Linked DNA regions of Homo sapiens: regions 1 and 3 are each linked to region 2. Evidence: promoter capture Hi-C in 16 types of primary human blood cells and fetal thymus (Javierre and others, 2016). All regions are on one chromosome and are shown on one strand. Each heading gives the region's core, a stretch centred on a gene start or on the middle of the fragment in contact. The rest is flanking DNA. Distances are from core to core; before and after follow the strand shown.

The links. The method cuts DNA at HindIII sites, captures the fragments that hold promoters and counts their contacts. A CHiCAGO score of 5 or more calls a contact.
Region 1: a contact is called between a fragment that was not itself captured here and the fragment with the promoter of KCNB1 in region 2, in 2 of 17 cell types (endothelial precursors and M2 macrophages). The highest score is 7.7, in endothelial precursors.
Region 3: a contact is called between a fragment that was not itself captured here and the fragment with the promoter of KCNB1 in region 2, in 3 of 17 cell types (endothelial precursors, M2 macrophages and M1 macrophages). The highest score is 8.1, in endothelial precursors.

The regions. Positions count from the first base shown.
Region 1 is chr20:49,391,021-49,395,138 of GRCh38, reverse strand. All of the region lies in intron 1 of KCNB1 (potassium voltage-gated channel subfamily B member 1), which reads left to right. The region is part of intron 2 of LOC105372649 (a long non-coding RNA gene); the gene reads right to left. Among named protein-coding and RNA genes, the nearest start is that of KCNB1, 90 kb to the left of the region's middle. The HindIII fragment of the contact is 836 bases long and covers 1,433-2,268 here.
Region 2 is chr20:49,479,875-49,484,095 of GRCh38, reverse strand. KCNB1 (potassium voltage-gated channel subfamily B member 1) reads left to right here and starts at 1,428. Exons shown (of 2, transcript NM_004975.4): 1 at 1,428-2,182. The coding sequence starts at 1,616. The HindIII fragment of the contact is 15,223 bases long and covers 1-4,221 here.
Region 3 is chr20:49,366,812-49,370,872 of GRCh38, reverse strand. It overlaps KCNB1 (potassium voltage-gated channel subfamily B member 1), which reads left to right. Exons shown (of 2, transcript NM_004975.4): 2 at 1-4,061. The region is part of intron 2 of LOC105372649 (a long non-coding RNA gene); the gene reads right to left. Among named protein-coding and RNA genes, the nearest start is that of SNORD12, 88 kb to the right of the region's middle. RefSeq lists an enhancer at 1,699-2,252. The HindIII fragment of the contact is 761 bases long and covers 1,380-2,140 here.

The sequences.
Region 1 (4,118 bases), core at 601-3,100, 89 kb after region 2:
AACTCCCTGCCGGTGGATGAGTGGGGGGCCGTCCTGCTGGCAGGGTGTCCTCGGTTCACATGCGTACCCTGGGGTACGCATTTTCCATGCATGATTTCATTGCTGCCTGACAACCACCTGTGCAGGGGGTATTATTCTGAGCCCCATTTTACAGATGAGGAAGCTGAGGCTCAGAGAGTTAATGTGATCATACATGCCAGAGTTCAACCTATATCTAGAACTAATCTGCTTGCCCAAAAGCTGAAGTGGTTCCAAACTCTGTACTAAGAGTGTCTACCTGTTTTGTCTGACTTCATCTTCCGATTCTGCCTGTTTCACACGGGAGACTCAGAGAGGTTAAGTAATGTACCGAAAGTCACCCAGCTGCCAAGGGCCAGGATTGGAACCCAACTTTGTCCAAAGTCAAAGTTTGTAGGCTAACCCCTTACTCTCTATCCAGTTTCAATATGAAGGAGCTTTGAGAAGTTCAAGTGACCACAGAATCCTTGGTGGTACTGAAACAATTATCTGTACAAGATCCTACTAAGCGTAAGCCCTGAGAAGTGCTAAGACTTCTGGCCCTTCTATGGAAACCCTGTGTTGCAGCCAGGGCTCTTAGATGACACTTTTTTGGAGAGAGTGGGATCCTCAGGAATTTTGTTCAAATGCTGACATCTGACCGCTTGTTCACTTTATGTGTCAACTCCTGGGCTTTGGTTGCTCCTGCCAGACCCCAGTGCAGGCTGGGAGAGTTTGGAGGATTCCAGATGCAATCTAGAATCTGCCCAGAAGCTTGCGGCTCATGGGGGAGCTTCCACCAGTGGGTATACCTCCTCCCGTCCTTCTCTCCACCACTCCTTGATCTATGGAAGAAGGGAACAGGCATTTCTTGAGGACCTGGTAGATGCCATGCACTTTCTTTGTGATATCTCAGTGTGATTCAGCCCCTTCCTTCCTGTGGATCCTAAACGCAAGTCATTTTACCTCTATGAATCTTAGCTCTCTCACCTGTAAAATTAAGATAACAATTTTGTTCAGTCAGATCACTTTTTATTTGCAAGGGTCAGAAATCCAGCCCAACTGGCCTAATCCAAAAAGAGCATTCATCAGTTCATATTGTTGGAAAATCCAAAGGGATGGCTTCAGGGATGGCTGGATCCAGGTGCTCAAATAATGTCATTAGAAACCTGTCTTTGTGTCTTGGCACAGAGTCCCTCTGCTTTGGCTACACTCTTGGGCAGATTTTTTTTCCCCAGAGAGCCAGAGTTGACCCTCCAGCCACTTCTGGTTGATATCCTGTTAACCCAACAGCCCCTGATGAAAGAGACCACCTCTTTCCCAATAATTTGAGAAAAAGTTCCAGGATGAACCCTGATTGACCAATTTTAGTCATGCCCACACTACTAAAGTAATCCCTGTGGCCAGGGAGATGAATTATCCTAACTGGTAAGCTTGGATCTCACTCTTACCCCCTGAAACGGAGAAACAGGGTCAACTTCACTTAATGCGTGATTGTGGAGGAGGAACAATTCCCAAAAAATGATGCTAAACTATCCAAAAACATATCCACCACACTAATACCTACCTCCTGGGTACTTGTGAGGATTAATTGAGATAGTATGCTGTGCCTGGCTCCCAGTACATGCTCAGTTACTCCATAGCCAGCCTTGTCAACTCCTTCCTGAACCTCTGACTATCCATCTCTGACCCAGCCTCAGAGTGAGACAGGCATGAATTCAAGTCCTAATCCTGCTGTGTGGCTCTGGGCATGTTATTTAGGGGCTCCAAGCCTCAGATCCATCCTCTGAAAAATGAAGGTGAAAAGAGGAGCTACTTCCTGGGGTGATGGTGAATAAATGCTTTGGTACCTCACATGTCGCGGGTGTGCAGTAAATGGTGGTCTCCCCTCTTGCCAGTTTTCTCTCTGTGTGCACACCTGCCCTAGCCAAACTGGCTTGACTGTTATTCCCCACCTCCAACCCTTTGAATATGCAGCTGCCTCTGCCTAGAACACCCCTACTCCCATCTCTGCCTGCTGGAATCCATCTCTAGCCCTCAAGCCCCAGCCCAAATGTTTCCTCCTCCAATGGAACCTCACCTTTTTGAGGCTTGGTTTTCACAATTGCAAAGCAGGAATTACGAGAGTATCTACCTCCTGGGGTTGATATAAGGAGTAAATGAGATCGGTCATGCAATGCAGTTGGCGCAGTGCCTGCTTTGGTGAGAAATCAATAAATCTCAGCTGTTATTATATCATTAGTATCAGGCATCCAGCTGCTAATTCAAGCTTGCATTTTCCAATAGTGCCTTGCATAGGAGGGGTGCTCAGTAAACATATTGCATTTGGGTGGTCCGATTGGGGTCATGGCTTCTAAACCCATCCATCCAAACTTCCATCCATCCATCCATCCCTCCATCCAACTGACCAACTCACAAACCATTCACCTGTTCATTCATTCAGGCAGTCATTTAGTGCACCAGTATTTGTTGAGTGCCAATGCCACATCTGGCTCTGTGCTGGGCAGTGGGGACCCAGCCTTGTGAAATAGACACAGTCCCTGCCCTTGATGTGCTAACCTAGGTTGGTGGAGAAGCGGAAAATAAATGAGTAAACAAACAAATAAACAAAATGATTTGGCCAGGCATGGTGGCTCACATCTATAATCCCGTCCCTTTGGGAGGCTGAGGCGGAAGGATTCCTTGAGCCCAAGAGTTTGAGACCAGCCTGGGTAACATAGTGAGATCTTATCTCTACAAAAAGAAAAAAAAATAGCTGGGCATTGTGGCGCACATCTGTGGTCCCAGCTACTCAGGAGGCTGAGGTGGGAGGATTGCTGGAGCCTGGGAGGTCAAGGATGCAGTGAACCATGATAACATCACTGCACCCTTTTGAGACCCTGTCAAAAAAAAAAAAAAATGACTGCAGATTGTGACAAATCACCAAGGAGGTAAAACAGTGCAGCAAGAGTGAGTGACTGAGGAAGAGGTATTTTTAATCAGGCAGTGAGGGACAGTCTCTCTAAGGAGAGACTGTGAGGGATAAGAAGGAGCCAGTCACAGACAATCTGGGATGAGGATGTTCTAGACAGAGAAACAGCAAGTGCAAACGTCCTGAGGCAGGAGTGGGCTTGGCATGTGGAAGAGCAGACAGGTGGCCAGTGTGGCTGGAAGGGAGTGACTATGTGCAAGAGCACAGAGAAAAAGAGATCAGAGAGGTCAACAGGGGCCAAGTCAGGCAGGGCCGTGCAGCCTCCATAAGAGTTTGGACCTTGTTTCAAGTGCAGCAGGACACCACTGGAGGACTTTAAGAAGGCGAGTGATGAAACTTCACAAAGACTGCTGTGACAGGGCAATGAAAGGGCTGACTCAACTTAATTCAGTCTAGGAAAAGCTGGTGACATTGCTACTGAGTCCCGAAAGAAGGAAGAAAGCAAACTGGTGAAGGGGCAGGGGAGGTGGCAGGAAAAGGTCTCTCCAGGCCAGGCCCAGGGAACAGCAAATGAAAAGGTGCCGAGGTCTCTGTTGACCTCCCTCTTAGAACAGGAAAATGAGAGGCTACTGAGAGTCCAGAAAGGGAAGGAAGGAAGGGTGTGGAGTGGAGCCAGTTAAGGACACAGGGAACTACTCAAGTTCCATGGAATGGAGTTGTTTTCTGAGCAACTTGTTCCCAGTCCATTGCTACGTTATTCTGGGCAACCGGTGTCTTTTTGCCTGTGTTACTATCAGATGGGTTGGCAGTCCATGTGTAAGTTGTACTCCATATTCTCCATATACTGGAGAATTACTGGGCTAACCACTGCAGTGCTGATTAGAATCTAGGCCTGGCTCTATAACAAAGTGAGACCCAGGGAGAGAAGTATATTTCTCTCATCAGTCCAGATGAAAATAGTCCACGACTAGTACCATGGCTCTATAAAGTCATCATGGCCCCAGCCTCATTCCACCTTTCTGCTCTGCTTTTCCCAGAGTGGGGTTTTCAGTCTCACGACTCTCAGTGGCTGCTAGAGTTCCAGCAATCATGTAATCATCCCTGGCAGCAGGATGGAGGAAGATCTAAAAAGAGGAGGCAGCCTTCCCTGCTTTAAAGAGATTCTGGGGCTGGGTGCAGTGGCTCATGCCTGTAATCCCAACACTTTGGG
Region 2 (4,221 bases), core at 179-2,678:
GCCCCGCGGCGCCTGCAGCCCGGGCGAGTTGCCTGCCCGGCCGGGGTAGGCCCGGCTCAGCCCGGCCCCGGGACCGCCGCTGCCCACGGGCGGGGGCGCCCGGGCGGCCGGGACGATGCGCGGTCCCTGGCCCCAGGAGGCGGCCGCCCTGGGGGTGAGTGTTGGGGCGTACGGCCTTCCGTGGGGGTGCATGGGGACACGGACAGGGGGTTTGCCTGCCGCAGCTCGGCCTGTTGGTCTGCTCGGGCTCCGCAGCTCCAGGCTGGAGGGGAGCGGGGTGGGAGGCAGGCAAGGGCTGAGGCCTGAGGGGACGCGCAATCCCCATTCTGGGGCTAAGGCGTGAGCCCTACATGCAGGGGGTGCTCAGGGGAACCCCCCGAAATCACTAGTGCGCGGTAGGAGGATGGCACCTTTTGAAAAGGCCAGAAAATTTAGCTCATTTCCCCGCCTCCCACCTCCCCCACCCCTTCCCTTCCAAGCCCGGGGAAAGGCGCAGAACCCGGAGTTATAAAAAGCCATCGCGGGAGAGGAACGAGGAGGAGGAGTAGGAGGAGGAGGAGGAGGAGGAGGAAGAGGAGGAGGAGGGGGAGAAGGAAGAGGAGGGGGAGGAGAAGGAGGAGAAGGGGGCGGGGAAGGAGCGAGGGGAGGACGGAGCAGGCGGATCCCGAGGACTCTGCCCGCCCCTCCTGCGGTAGGGTTGGGGGCTCAGAGGGAGAGGCGAGAGCGGGCTTTTCCTCCTCGCGGCTCACCTTGTCGCTGGAGCAATCTCAGGAGATGCTCCAGTGTTTGGGAAGAGGGGTCGCTCCAGGACAGAGGGGCTGTTGTGCACACCCCGTCTGTTGTGACCTCGGACAGGTGGGCACCTGGAACCCCCGGAATTCCCCCAAATCTTTTAAGATTTGGAAAAAAGCCCGCTGCCATTCCCCCACCCCCAAAATCTTGATTATCTCGAGAAGGGGAAGGAAAAGAAGAGAACTCGTTAAAAAAAAAAAAAAGAAGGAAAGAAGAAGAAGAAAGAAAGAAAAAGATAAAGAAAGAAAGTTTTCATGCAGCTCCCCCTCTCTCCCCATGGCGGGGCCAGGTTCGGGACTCGATCGGGAGACCCATAATGAAGAGAGTTTCAGCACTCTAAGGGGCGGACAGCGCCCCGGGCGGCTGGGTCGCGCCTGGGCCGCAGAAGCCCAGGGTGGGGCCTCCCGGGCTCCAGGGGCATCTCTTGGGGCCCTCTCCCCGCCCCGAGGGGCGGCCCCTCCCTCCATCCATGGGGTGCGGCGGACTTCAGCACCGGCGGGAGGGACAGCGACCATCCGTCCTACCCCACTGAGCCGCTTAAGCGCGGGGGAAGGTCAAGGCCGGCTGGGAGCCTGGTGGAGAGGTGGGGGGCGGGGGGACAGCATGCCCAGCTCCCCGTTTGCTGACCCGCGTCCGCTTTCGCTTTCTGCCTCGCAGCCGTCGGGATGGAGGTGAGAAGACGGCCGTGACGCGCGCCCGCGGGGCCCCCTGCACCCCCAGCAGCCCACAGCGCTCCCTGCCCCCCTCCCCCGCAGCAGCGGGCCTTGCCGTCGAGTGACAGCGGCCTGGGGGGGCAGGGGGGGCGGGGGCGGCCGGATCAGCGATGCCGGCGGGCATGACGAAGCATGGCTCCCGCTCCACCAGCTCGCTGCCGCCCGAGCCCATGGAGATCGTGCGCAGCAAGGCGTGCTCTCGGCGGGTCCGCCTCAACGTCGGGGGGCTGGCGCACGAGGTACTCTGGCGTACCCTGGACCGCCTGCCCCGCACGCGGCTGGGCAAGCTCCGCGACTGCAACACGCACGACTCGCTGCTCGAGGTGTGCGATGACTACAGCCTCGACGACAACGAGTACTTCTTTGACCGCCACCCGGGCGCCTTCACCTCCATCCTCAACTTCTACCGCACTGGGCGACTGCACATGATGGAGGAGATGTGCGCGCTCAGCTTCAGCCAAGAGCTCGACTACTGGGGCATCGACGAGATCTACCTGGAGTCCTGCTGCCAGGCCCGCTACCACCAGAAGAAAGAGCAGATGAACGAGGAGCTCAAGCGTGAGGCCGAGACCCTACGGGAGCGGGAAGGCGAGGAGTTCGATAACACGTGCTGCGCAGAGAAGAGGAAAAAACTCTGGGACCTACTGGAGAAGCCCAATTCCTCTGTGGCTGCCAAGGTGAGTCTGGGATCTGGGGGCTGCTGGTCTGGGGGGATCTGCTTGCATCCCCATATTGAGGACCACTGCTGGAGGACTCTGGCTTTGTTCCCAACGATGAAGATTAGTAATGGGGAGGGGCTAGGACTGAGTCCCCAGAGGTGAGGACCAACCCCCTCAGACTTTTCCCATGTGGCACTGGTCACTCCATCTTTTTATTATCCAAGACGTTATACCCCTACTTGGTTGGAGAGGTTTCACAGGGACCCATAAAAAGCCACAGCAAGAAGATGGACACTGACGAATAAGAGAGAGAGCACAGAGAGACAACAGTGGCTTGCTGGGGTGGAGTAGGGTTTGCTTCCCTGTGAAGTCCCAGACCTAGGCTGGATTGGATCACCCTGTGATTTTAATATCTCCATATTTATAACCTCACTCTGCCCCAGCAAGGGAAAAAAGCAGCTTACAGACATGCTTACAGGACATTGAGATACTGTCAGATAGTTTAAACATAAGTAAGAAGGGACCCCGAGGGGTGGGTGTGGACCCACACGACACATGCAGTTGGTTGTGGATGCTTGCGGGTGAGGGGTCACCCCCTGGTTACTTATTTATTTGGTGAGTTTATTTCCAGAATGGTTTGGTGCAGCTTGTAAAGATGTTTCAGCTCTTGGAACAAGATGTAAATTTCAAAATAGGAGAGAAAAATGAGGCAATGTGAAAAATAAAGGAGGAGGAGGAGGAGGAGGCAGGAATGAGTTTGAACACAAAGAGTGGGCCAGAGAGTCTTTGGTGCTGCTGGGTAATGGCAGGGGCTGTAGGGGACTGAGGAAGGCTTGGGGTGGGAGCCAAGGCAGGGCAGGAGGGCACTGGTTGATCAGCAACTTCTCTACGTCAGGCTGGGATTTGGGGTTGCCTGGGAAAGATGGGGCCTGTCTTCATGTGCCCGAAGTGCTGGGTGCTGGGAGCAAATGACAAAACAGTGTGTGCAAGGCTATAAAAGAGGTTCTGTGAGGTTCACGGAGAACCCAGAAAAGAGAGATGTTGATGTTGAAATCCAGCAAGACCAACTTGGGAAACATGGGGAGAATGTAACTGAGTGTGGGGCCTAAAAAAAGGGGTCAGGTAAGTAGATTTGTGGTAAAAGAAAGAGGAGAGGAGGAAGCCTAAATATCCAGCCATATCTTACTAGCTAGGGCTGACTCCTGTCCAGCCCAGCCTTTCATTGTGGGGTCTCCGGCTCAGTTCTCACTGAAGGCCCACCTGCAGGTCCCAGTCTGAAGGGAGACTCCGTGGGGTCCTTCCTCCAGATCTAGCCACCCAAGGAGAGGCCCCTGAGAGTGGATGGAGAAGGGGTGGCTGGTAAGAGGGTGGAGGGAGCCCCCACGTGTTTTTTTCGTTTCCCTGTTGGCCCTAACAAGGATGTAGAGGCTCCTGGGCCTGGCTTCCTCCTCTGAGGCTGTGGGCTGTCTCTCTCCATAATCCCGCCCCCAATTTTGTGTCCAAAAAGCCTCCTCCTAAGACAGAGTCACTCACCCTTAATCAGCTTAGGATCAACAGACTTATTTTGCTATTTCCAGGCATGACACAGGTTCTCCCACTGCACATCCCATTTAGGCCCAAATGTGACTCTCCCTCCCTGTCCCATCCCTAAGACATGAGAACAAGGTACAGGGAACTGGACAATTTGCCCTCCCAGAGAAGAAGCAGGCACAGGGCCATGTTTTGGTCTGGCAGCAAGACCCAAGCACCGGGGCTTGCAAGAGGTGCTGTTTGGGAATAAAGAACCTCTCCTCTCCCTTGGGTTAATCCGCTAGCAGGGACAGCCTTGTGACCTCTCCATGATCCCAGTCTGGGGCTGCCAGCTCACATTCCTGGCAGATGGACCATCTAGGATTTTCTGTAGCCAGAGCTGAAATGGGGAGGGAGGCAGGCTCACTGGCCCTCAGAATAGAAATCCTGGCTGCCAATGATCAAACACCTACTGTGTATGGAGTGTAACAACGCAGCTCTGTTATTATCCCACCTTTCGCAAACAGTGAGGCTGAAAGAGGTTAAGT
Region 3 (4,061 bases), core at 511-3,010, 110 kb after region 2:
TGCAGTCCTGTTCTTTGCCGCATTAACAGAGAAAACGAGAACGTCACTCTTCCTAGGTATCTTCAGAGTATTCGCGCAGCAACTGCAAAGGGACTTAGGGGCAGGGAGAGTGTGAGGTCATCCCGTGCCAGGCAGAGGAAGCAGCACTCCCAAAACACTTTGCTGAACACGCAGTCTGAGCTGGGGGCCTCTTGAGGAATGACTGTGGGACAGTTCTCCGCCGACCATCTCACATGTCTCTTCTTTGTTTTCATCACCATTAATGTCCACCATCAGCACAAATGTGAAAATTCAGGGAAAAAAACAAATGCTTTTTGATAAAAGTAAATAGTTGTGATTTCCAATTCAGATATTTTTAGAGCTGATGCTATCTGTAAAAAATAATAATAATAATAATATAGTCTATTTTACATATCAGGAAAGTGAACATGTTTCAATATAGCCATATATATTGAGAAGGAACTTACCACCCCTTCTTCCAATCGAGGCATTTCATTTGTTGGTTGAAGCAGATGAGAACTGTACAGATTGAAAATGATTTGTTTTTTTTTTTTTTTAAAAAAAACGAAAACCAATTGGTGCAACTCTCCTTGTAACCAAAGGCCCTTTCTGCCTTCTGTGGTCATGTAGGACCTGGCCCTTCCTTCCTTGTGTATTTTGTCCAACCGTAAAGTAGCATTTTATTGAGTCACTTTTGAAGGACGAATTCAGAAGTATCATTAAGAACCTACCTTTTCAGGCTTCATAGCCAGAGTCCTATAGAGTTCTTATAGAAACAGAATAATTGAAATTCAGCATATACTATGCTTAGAAAGTATTTTGTTTGGGTTTGATTGGGTTTTTTTTTCTTTTACTTGTGTGTGTATGTACTGGGGGAGTATAGCTTTTATTCTGTGCTCAATTCGAAAGAGAGTATTATAAGTTTTCCCAGCCCATCCACCCGCTAAAAAAGAACATATCCAAATTTTAATATGTATACACCCAACCTGTACCTATGTACGTGAATATACATGCACTGGGAAATCTACTTAAGAGTCTTCACTGAGAAGTTCACTCGATAGAAAGGTCTTGATAGAGAAGAGAAGAGGAAAGCAATGGTCTGAAGGCAAATCCTGCTTTAACTTGGTGGTCCATTTCCCATTCATTCCTGAACCAATGAGAGCAGAAAGAAACAAGTCAACCCAAACAAGCAAACTAGGGGCTGGACGCGGCGAATGGATGCTGGTCAGTTTGGCAAATTCACTGAAACTCATCAAGAACCCAGCTGAACTTGCATTCCAACTTCCACAATTATCTGAAAGGGCTAGGGACCAGGTAGCCATGTGTCCCAATCACACGGGGGAGAGTCTGCCACCGGCGGTGAGAGAGGTGGGGAAGCTTTGGAGGAGACAGTATATTCACCTTTTTATCTTTGGGTAAAAGAAACCAACAGGACTTTGGTGCAGTAGATTTCTCAGTGCCTTCTTTAGGAATTCTATCTTAAGCACACTTCAAGGGGAAAGAAAAAAGGAGGAGAGAACATTTGTTCCCGTGAAGTCCCTTTCTCCAAAGGACTGGGGATCAAGAAGGAAGAAGAGTAAGAAGGAAAAACAACAAAATCCTGAGGAGGCCATTTCTTTTAACCCACCCAGCTTGCCCCTGAAAACTGCTGGTGATACAAACTTTTTCAAACTGACTTCCAGCTTCTCCATGTGTCTTGGTAACTGTAGCCTCGTCTCTGCCCTTTCTCCTAATAAGATCCATGTTTCTAAGGAGAAAAACAAAACAGTATTCTCTTCTGTAAAACTGTAATGTATTGTTGATATTTGTAACTATTGTATATTTCTGTCTTGCTCCAGTCCCAGCTGGAGTGTCTAGTTCCATGGACAAGGGGATATTTAAAATTCACCACGGACAAGAGCCACTAAAGCCAGGTCTCTATCGCTAATCTCTCTCCTATTCTTATTTCTCTACCAACTAATCTCAAGTAACAATACCCCAGGCTTTTTTTCAGCCTCAATTCAAGTAACTTTGAATCAAAAGAGAGCAAGGCAAAAAGCCTCCGGACATGCTTCTTTGGGAAAGGACTTTTTCTGTAGCTGCAGAGTGGGCAGGAGGGAGAAGGGGCTCCCCTGAGACCCCGGCAGGACAATGGAAAGCTTCCAGCCCCGAGCTGATGTTTCCTCACCTATCACTGCTTATAGGACAGCATCCAAATGCTTTCATGTCACTCAGCCCAGGCAACCCAAACCAGTCCTGGCTACACCCAGAAATAAGAGTTACCTCTGCATTTTCTGTTGCCATTTTTCTGGCTCTAGAAGTATCTGATGCGCGACTATGTCATAGAATGTCCACGCATCTCAGAGTAGTCTATTTTTCTGTTCAGATAAAATATATATATATATGTATTTTTAGCAAATTTATAATAGGGCAATTGAGTCTAATTTCTTCTTTTGTAATACAGAACAATATCTTAGGAGTTTCATTGTTGGTCATTATCGTAGCTGATGTTTTCTGGTCTTTTGCAGTTCCTACCATTGTCCCTTGGGCTGTTTGGGTTTTCTTCCTTTTGATTCTGATTTCTTGAGGGTGGGGAAAGACTTTGGGGTTTGACTTCCTTGTGTAGGCATTTCTTGACACTAGGCCTGGACTCTGTCAATGCTGTGACTTTCCTCATTCATTTCTGTGTGTTTCTCCCATTCGTTGTTCTTAAGAATCCAGGGCATGAATGCAGGAATGAGACCCAGGGAAGCAGAGCTACAGATGGCCCTCAAAATCAGGATGGGATGTGGGCTGGTTTCACTTATATCCCACACCCCTTTAGGGATCTGAAGGGACTGAGTTTTCTCATCCCCAGAGATCTTGGAACCAAAAATCTCATGCAAGCAAACTCATCACTGGCATTTCTGAGATCCAGAACACATGTGAGTCCCTCCTGGCTGGGCTGCTCCCACATGTCCAGCACCCTGTCGGCCTGTAACATCAATCAGAGCTGAAGGTCAGAGGTTTTTCAGGTTCTCGTGAACCTCACAAGAACATGCTGGGCCTCCGATCTCACCAACTTGTTTATCAGTTCCTTGTTTCGATCTGTTTATTTATTTATTTTTTTGTTATTATTATTTTGAGACAAAGTCTTGCTCTGTTGCCCAGGCTGCAGTGCAATGGCGCAATCTCGGCTCACTGCAACCTCCTCCACCCAGGTTCAAGTGATTCTCATGTCTCAGCCTCCTGAGTAACTGGGATTACAAGAGCGCACCATCACGCCCAGCTAATTTTTGTATTTTTAGTAGAGGCAGAGTTTCTCCATGTTGGCCAGGCTGGTCTTGAACTCCTGACCTCAGGTGATCTGCCTGCCTCGGCCTCCCAGTGCTAGGATTACAGGTGTGAGCCACCACTGCACCCAGTCCATTTCAATCCATTTCTAACAGCTTCACCAAAAAACAGTGGCCAGACACCCTTGCAGCCAAACCCTGAGAAGAGATGTCCCCGAATCTGCTAGCTCATCTCCCCTTCCCTTGCCAGCTGCCTGGCTCCATAGAGCAGGAGGTGTGTGGCAAGGACAGGGGCAGTTTTCCAGCTTCCACCTATCCACGCCTGGGGGAGTTTTTGGACTGTCCTGATAATTAATTCCAGAGGCAGTTTTCAGTCCTGGGTGGGCGGAGGACATCTCACTAGGCAGGATCTTCAGCAGAAAGTGATTCTCCATCCGTCAACTCATGCAGGAAGATGAAGAAAGCCCAGATAATCTCCAACTTGCATTCGTTTAGGTTTTGGTATACCACCCACCTCACTGTCAGCTGCAGGGCTTGGGGCTCTGCCTAGAATCAGAAATTTGAGCCAAACTGGGACCCTCAGATGGCAGTGAGCCATCCCATCAGATAACTCCCAAGAGGAAGCCAACTCAAATATGAATTTTATTATTCTGGACTATGACCCTGATCAGAGTTCTCCCACCCCGAAAACCTCTGATAGTCTGGTTTGAACCAGAGTCAAATAAAACAGACAAGATTTTTTTTTCCTCTGCACAAAAGCAAAAAAACAAAACAAAAAAAAGTCTGCCAGTAGTTTCCTGGGTTTGATGC